2 separate regions of the Homo sapiens genome follow, and region 2 is linked to region 1. Evidence: promoter capture Hi-C in 16 types of primary human blood cells and fetal thymus (Javierre and others, 2016). All regions are on one chromosome and are shown on one strand. Each heading gives the region's core, a stretch centred on a gene start or on the middle of the fragment in contact. The rest is flanking DNA. Distances are from core to core; before and after follow the strand shown. Region 1 holds the start of DERL3 (derlin 3). Region 2 holds the start of DRICH1 (aspartate rich 1).

Region 1 (3,158 bases), core at 319-2,818:
GTATTTTTAGTAGAGACGAGGTTTCACCATGTTGGCCAGGCTGGTCTCGAACTCCTGACCTCAGGTGATCCACCCGCCTCGGCCTCCCAAAGTGCTGGGATTACAGGTGTGAGCCACTGCGCCCAGCCTTGTGACTGGTTTATGTTACTGGGTGTAATGTCTTCAAGGGTCATCCATGCTGCATCATGTATCCGAATTTCATTCCTTTAAGGTTGAATGGTATTGCATTGCATGTAGACAGCACATTTCGTCTGTCTCATCGGTGGGTGAACTGATGTGAACCATTGTGAATAATGGGGCCATGAACATGGGTGTATGAACATCTGTTCAAGTCCCTGCTTTTGATTCTTTTGAATGTGTACCCACAAGCAGCATTGCTGGATCATACGGTAATTCTATTTTTAATTTTTTGAGTCATGATCATATTGTTTTTCACAGCGGATGCACCATTTTATATTCCCACCAACGGTGCCCAAGGGTTCCAATTTCCCCATATCCTCGCCAACACTTATTTTGTTTTATTGTTTTGCTTTTCACAGTTACCATCCTGATGGACACAGGGATGCTTGCAAAGTGACAAACTTTAGAGGTATCCCAGGTCACCCCACCTGGCACTGCGGACGCCCACGTGGCCCCACCCCTCACTTGGCAATATTCTCATCAAGTGTCAGCACTAGCTTATTGTATTGACTGCCTCCTGGCTGGACTCTAAGAGACAGTGTCTTTTATTGCATGCTACATCCCCAACATCTAGAACAGTGTCAGGCAAACAGTTGTTTAATAAACGGTGGAAGGAAGGAAGGGAGGGAGGGAGGGAGGGAAGGAGGGAAGGAAGGTGGGTAGGTTGGTTTCTATTTTCCACCAAAATATTGAGGACCTCTCCTGCCTGTCCACTTGCTCTGGTGCGCCTCTCAACCCTCGCGCCCCACCTGGACTCAATCCCGCAGTCCTGCCTCTCCTTCCTTGGGCCCCCGGGGAAGAACCCCGACAGCGGCCGGCACATTTGAGTGGGGCCCTGGACGTTTGGGGAGGTTTGGACACATTCCCGAATGCCTCCCTGCTGTGGGTTAGGTGGGCCTGTCTTGGGCTGGCAGCGAGGACAACGTTGTGGCTAGGTCGTCAGTTAGTGAGCCAGCACGGTCTGAGCCGCCACACTCCGCGCCCCGCCCACGCGCCCCGCCCTTTCCAGTTTTGCCTCGCCTGCTCGGGTCTTCGCTCCTGTAACCCATACGATCTTAGCCCCGCCCCCGTGGTGTCGTGGGTCCACGCTACTGGTCCTCTCCTAGAAAGCCGCGAAATGACCAGTTCCTCATTGGCCACACGTTCTCCCGCGCCACCACCGCAGCCACAACAACCGCCACGTGCTCAACCTTGGCGCCTGCCCATTGGCCACCAGCCTCTACCCGCCCACTCTCCCTTTCCGCCCCTAATTTCCCTCTTCTTCCTTCCATTGGCTGTCGGGCTCAGGGGCTCTCTTTTCAGCCTGGGGCGCGCAGCGCCTCGGATGCGGATTGGCCGAAGGCGGGGCTGGGAGGCGGGTTAAAGAGCGCGTTGCTGGCTGGGCCACGCGTGCTTGAGAAGGTTCAATGGCGTGGCAGGGACTAGCGGCCGAGTTCCTGCAGGTGCCGGCGGTGACGCGGGCTTACACCGCAGCCTGTGTCCTCACCACCGCCGCGGTGGTAAGCGGCCGGGCGGACCGGACGTCGCCTTGGTTACAGCCTCTGGCGGGAGGGGTGAGGGTCGCCATGGTTACGGCGTGGCTCCCGGGCAGCTCTTGACTGGCCCCTGGTTCCACAGCAGCTGGAGCTCCTCAGCCCCTTTCAACTCTACTTCAACCCGCACCTTGTGTTCCGGAAGTTCCAGGTGAGGCCGCCCCGCGCCGCGCACCTGTGGGCCCGACCCACCCACCCCGCACCTGACCGCCCGTCCCCCGTAGGTCTGGAGGCTCGTCACCAACTTCCTCTTCTTCGGGCCCCTGGGATTCAGCTTCTTCTTCAACATGCTCTTCGTGTATCCTGCGCCCTGCGGACACGGGCTGGGTGGAGGGCAGGCCGGCCGGGCTGGGAGAGAGGCCGGGACGGGGAAACTGAGGCCCCGCCTGGTGGCACTTCCTATACCGACGCCGTAGGTTCCGCTACTGCCGCATGCTGGAAGAGGGCTCCTTCCGCGGCCGCACGGCCGACTTCGTCTTCATGTTTCTCTTCGGGGGCGTCCTTATGACCGTATCCTTCCCGCAGGCTCTGGAACCTCGGGCTAGGGCGCCTCGGCGTCCAGCCTGTGTTGGTCCTGGGGCCAACACAGCCATGCCAGAGAGGGACACAGTCGCTGTCTCCAGCTTAGTATGTGTTGAGGGCCCACTCTGTGCTCAGCTGCAGGGGTCAGGGCTAGATCTTCAGTGCTGTATGCAAAATACAAAGCCATGCACAAAAGAGCCAGGTGGGTTGTCAGGGCCACTAGCTGAGCCCTGAATGCGAGTAGCCGGGAGAAACTGGGGCAGGGACAGGCAGTGGTTGGGCCCTGGGATGAGGCTGTAGGTGTGCAGGGCAGATTTCGTGGGACCTGAAGCCCGTGGAGTGTGTCGCCTTTATTGGACTGGCTCATCTTGATGAGGGAATAGCACATAGGGGAGATGAGGGGAAGAATTCCAGGGTCTTGGGAAGTCAGAGGGGCCCTGGGCTTGGGCTGAGGCCTGCACCGGAGCACCTTGACTCTGGCCCAGCTGCTGGGACTCCTGGGCAGCCTGTTCTTCCTGGGCCAGGCCCTCATGGCCATGCTGGTGTACGTGTGGAGCCGCCGCAGCCCTCGGGTGAGGGTCAACTTCTTCGGCCTGCTCACTTTCCAGGCACCGTTCCTGCCTTGGGCGCTCATGGGCTTCTCGCTGCTGCTGGGCAACTCCATCCTCGTGGACCTGCTGGGTGAGCCTCCCGGTACATCTAGTCCGCCCCAGGCTGGCCACTCCCCTCAGGACACGCTGCTTATGCCCTGGGGCCCCTCTCCCATCCTTGCTGGAGTTCTCCTCACACCTGGCTCCATCCCCATCTTCCTGCCCTCCCAGCTGCTGTGCTCTTACAGCCCCTCAAGCCAGCCGGCCCACATAATTTGCATCGTCAGGACGGATCTACTGATGCTTGCACGGTCCTGATGGGAGTGAGGATGGG
Region 2 (3,158 bases), core at 166-2,665, 210 kb after region 1:
TATTGACTATTTGTCTTTGTCCTATGAGGACAATGGTACCCCACTGTGGGGTTCTCAATTTTGTATAAGAAAATAATGTTTTATGATTTGTTAGTAAAAGAAATACCTGAGGCTGGGCATGGTGGTTCATGCCTGTAATCCCAGCACTTTGGGAGGACGAGGCGGGTGGATCACCTGAGATGAGTTCAAGACCAGCCTGACCAACATGGTGAAACCCTCGTCTCTACTAGAAATACAAAAATTAGCCAGATGCGGTGGCGTGTGCCTGTAGTCCAGGCTACTCAGGAGGCTGAGGCTGGAGAATCGCTTGAACCTGGGAGGTGGAGGTTACAGTGAGCCGAGATCGTGCCACTGCACTCCAGCCTGGTCGACAGAGCAATAGTCCATCTCAAAAAATAAATAAATAAGTAAATAAAAGAAATATCTGAATACCCCTGCCATGGAAAGAAGAAACAGAGCGAGAAAAGGGAGTTGGTAGGTCGTAGCATTACAGAACTGGGAAGGATGTGTTCAGTCCCTATTTTATAGACGAGGAGGGAAGTGTGATGTGTCCCAGGGTTTCACTGAGGATACACAGCCATAACTCTCTATTGAGAGTGGGACCAGGGCCCTGGGGGTAGCTATGGTCAAGTTGCAGACAAGAACTAACACTTGTAAGACAGGAGAGAAGCATTTAATTAGAAAAGCAGTAAAAAATTTGTGTATAACTACATTTGGTGAGCAAATGAAAGCTGTCAGACTCAGAAAAACAGAACTGCTGGTGGAACTGACTTTAGTAACTGGGGTTTTCTTTCTTTTGTTTCTTTTTTTTTTTTTTTTTTAAAGACAGTTGCACCTTTGTCACCCAGGCTGGAGTGCAATGGTGTGATCTTGGCTCACTGTGCAACCTCCGCCTCCTGGATTCAAGCGATTCTCCTGCCTCAGCCTCCTGAGTAGCTAGGATTGCAGGTGCCCGCCACCAGGCCGAGCTAATATTTTGTATTTTTAGTAGAGACAAGTTTTCACCATGTTGGCCAGGCTGGTCTTGAACTCCTGACCTCAAGTGATCCACCCCCCCCGCTCAGCCTCCCAAAGTGCTAGGATTACAGGCGTGAGCCACCACTCCCGGCCATACCAGGGTTTTCTATTGAGTTTCTTGCCAAGGGTGACTCGCAATAACAACTCCCCCTGCACTTAGCTCAGGACTGGAAAGCTCAGGCAGCATAGGGTGAATAAAAGCCTGAGTAGTGCAGTCCCCACAGAGGGGCAGGGGGGCCACAAGGTGGGCAGCAGCAGGGACAGGCATTATGAGGCATTGGGGGGGGCTGTGGGGCTGGACATTGTGAGTCACTAGCCTGACCTGGCTGTTTCCTGGTAACCAGGTGACATAGGAAGCTTTGTGGGTTATAAGCATCAGCCAGGGCCAGCAGCCCTCAGTCAGTAGCTCGCAGTGGAGGGAGGAGGAGCTCCAACTGTGCTCTTTGATGGCAGTTTTTGCACCTTTGGGTGCTTGTCATGTTCGTTTATTTTTCAAAGAAGACAGCAGGTCCCTGACCTCATAGACCAGCTAGTTTGGGAGGTGGCGGCAGAATAAGGGCTGAGGACCCAGATCTGCCTGGGGTCAGGCTGCTTCTAAAAGTGCAGGGCCACCCTCAGTAGTGTGGCTGCTAGGGCAGCACAGTTACAATTTCGCTGAAGGCTGAGGCAGGAGTGGAGAGGCATGGAGAGGCCCCATGGGGAATATACTGACCTGTTGTATCAACTCCCACTGTGGCTGGCCCAGGGGGAAGGACGCACCCTGTTATGAATCTGATACTGATATTTATGAGACTGTGGCTGCTGCAACATCAGAATCCACTACTGTAGAGCCTGGCAAGCTGGATGTGGGAGCCACGGAGGGCCAAGACCTGCAGCACATCAGCAACCAAAAGATGCCCACAGGTAAAAAAGCCACGGGTGCCGTTTACCCTCTGGCACACCTCTGGCCACCCCCACCCCCTTCCCTTACCCTCATCCCCAGAGACATCCTCAGCTTCCAGCTCCCTCCTGTCCATAGCCAGCTTTCCCAGGTCTGGGCATGGGGGACAAAGGCTGACTCTGCCTCCTGTCTTTGTCGTTGAGACTTTTTGATCTAGAAAAGGGAGAGCCCTTTTCTCAATGAAAATTCAAATACCCCAATTTTGGAGTCCCCATCCCATTCTCTAGCCTCACCTATCTGGCCGGTTTGGTACCTAAATGAAGGAACCAGCTAAGGGTCAGATTGTTTTTCTTCCATCTCTTAAGGTAGCTTATTTTTTGTAAATTTTATTTATTATTTATTTATTTATTTATTTATTTATTTTAGATGGAGTCTTGCTCTGTTGCCCAGGCTGGAGTGCAGTGGCGGGATCTCAGCTCACTGCAACCTCTGCCTCCTGGGTTCAAGCGATTCTCTAGCATCAGCCTCCTGAGTAGGGACTACAGGTGCCCACTACCACGCCCGGCTAATTTTTTGTATTTTTAGTAGAGACGGGATTTCACTGTGTTAGCCAGAATGGTCTCGATCTCCTGACCTGGTGATCTGCCCGCCTCGGCCTCCCAAAGTGCTGTGATTACAGGCATGAGGCATCGCGCCCGGCTCCTAATTTAATTTTTTTTAAGTTCCGAGGTACATGTGCAGGATGTACAGGTTTGTTACGTAGGTAAAAGTGTGCCATGGTGGTTTGCTGCACCTGTCAACCCATCACCTAGGTATGAAGCCCTGCATGCATTAACTGTTTATCCATATTCTCTCCCTTCCCCTGCCCCCTGACAGGCCCCAGTGTGTATCATTCCCTGTCTAACACCGTACGTATTCTAAGACCACTCCTTTGCTGATGACAAATCTAAGTGATGGTTCGCAGGGGACTCTCTTCCCTGCTTCTGTCTGGAGAGCCTGCCTGGCTTCAGGTTCCTGATAGGAGTGAGGACCTGGAGTGCAGTGTGAGAAACAGATGGCTCAGTGAAGAACTGTCATCATCCACTAGAGTCCCTGGAAACAGCCGTGTCATTTAGATGATGTGGGTTTGTGTGCATGAGGGTTGGGAGATAGCCAGGGGTGAATTAATGTGTAGTGTTTGTAAATGTGTGTTTTCCCCCAAAAATGTGGACCCGCATGCCCAGCACAAGTGCAAGTGTCAGTTTTCTTGAATTCCTGGCCT

What was found. Contacts are between HindIII fragments. The CHiCAGO score rates a contact against its expected background, and 5 or more counts as called.
Region 2: a contact is called between the fragment with the promoter of DRICH1 here and the fragment with the promoter of DERL3 in region 1, in 1 of 17 cell types (naive CD4 T cells). The highest score is 6.0, in naive CD4 T cells.

Annotation. Positions count from the first base shown.
Region 1 is chr22:23,837,416-23,840,573 of GRCh38, reverse strand. DERL3 (derlin 3) reads left to right here and starts at 1,568. Exons shown (of 7, transcript NM_001002862.3): 1 at 1,568-1,679; 2 at 1,798-1,863; 3 at 1,937-2,010; 4 at 2,129-2,222; 5 at 2,720-2,915. The coding sequence starts at 1,587. SMARCB1 (SWI/SNF related BAF chromatin remodeling complex subunit B1) reads right to left here. Exons shown (of 9, transcript NM_003073.5): 9 at 2,565-3,158. RefSeq lists a silencer at 1,343-1,645. The HindIII fragment of the contact is 14,043 bases long and covers 1-3,158 here.
Region 2 is chr22:23,630,578-23,633,735 of GRCh38, reverse strand. It overlaps DRICH1 (aspartate rich 1), which reads left to right and starts at 1,415. Exons shown (of 12, transcript NM_016449.4): 1 at 1,415-1,920. The coding sequence starts at 1,713. It overlaps LOC124905089 (a long non-coding RNA gene), which reads left to right. Exons shown (of 3, transcript XR_007068021.1): 3 at 826-860. RefSeq lists a silencer at 239-376. The HindIII fragment of the contact is 16,342 bases long and covers 1,377-3,158 here.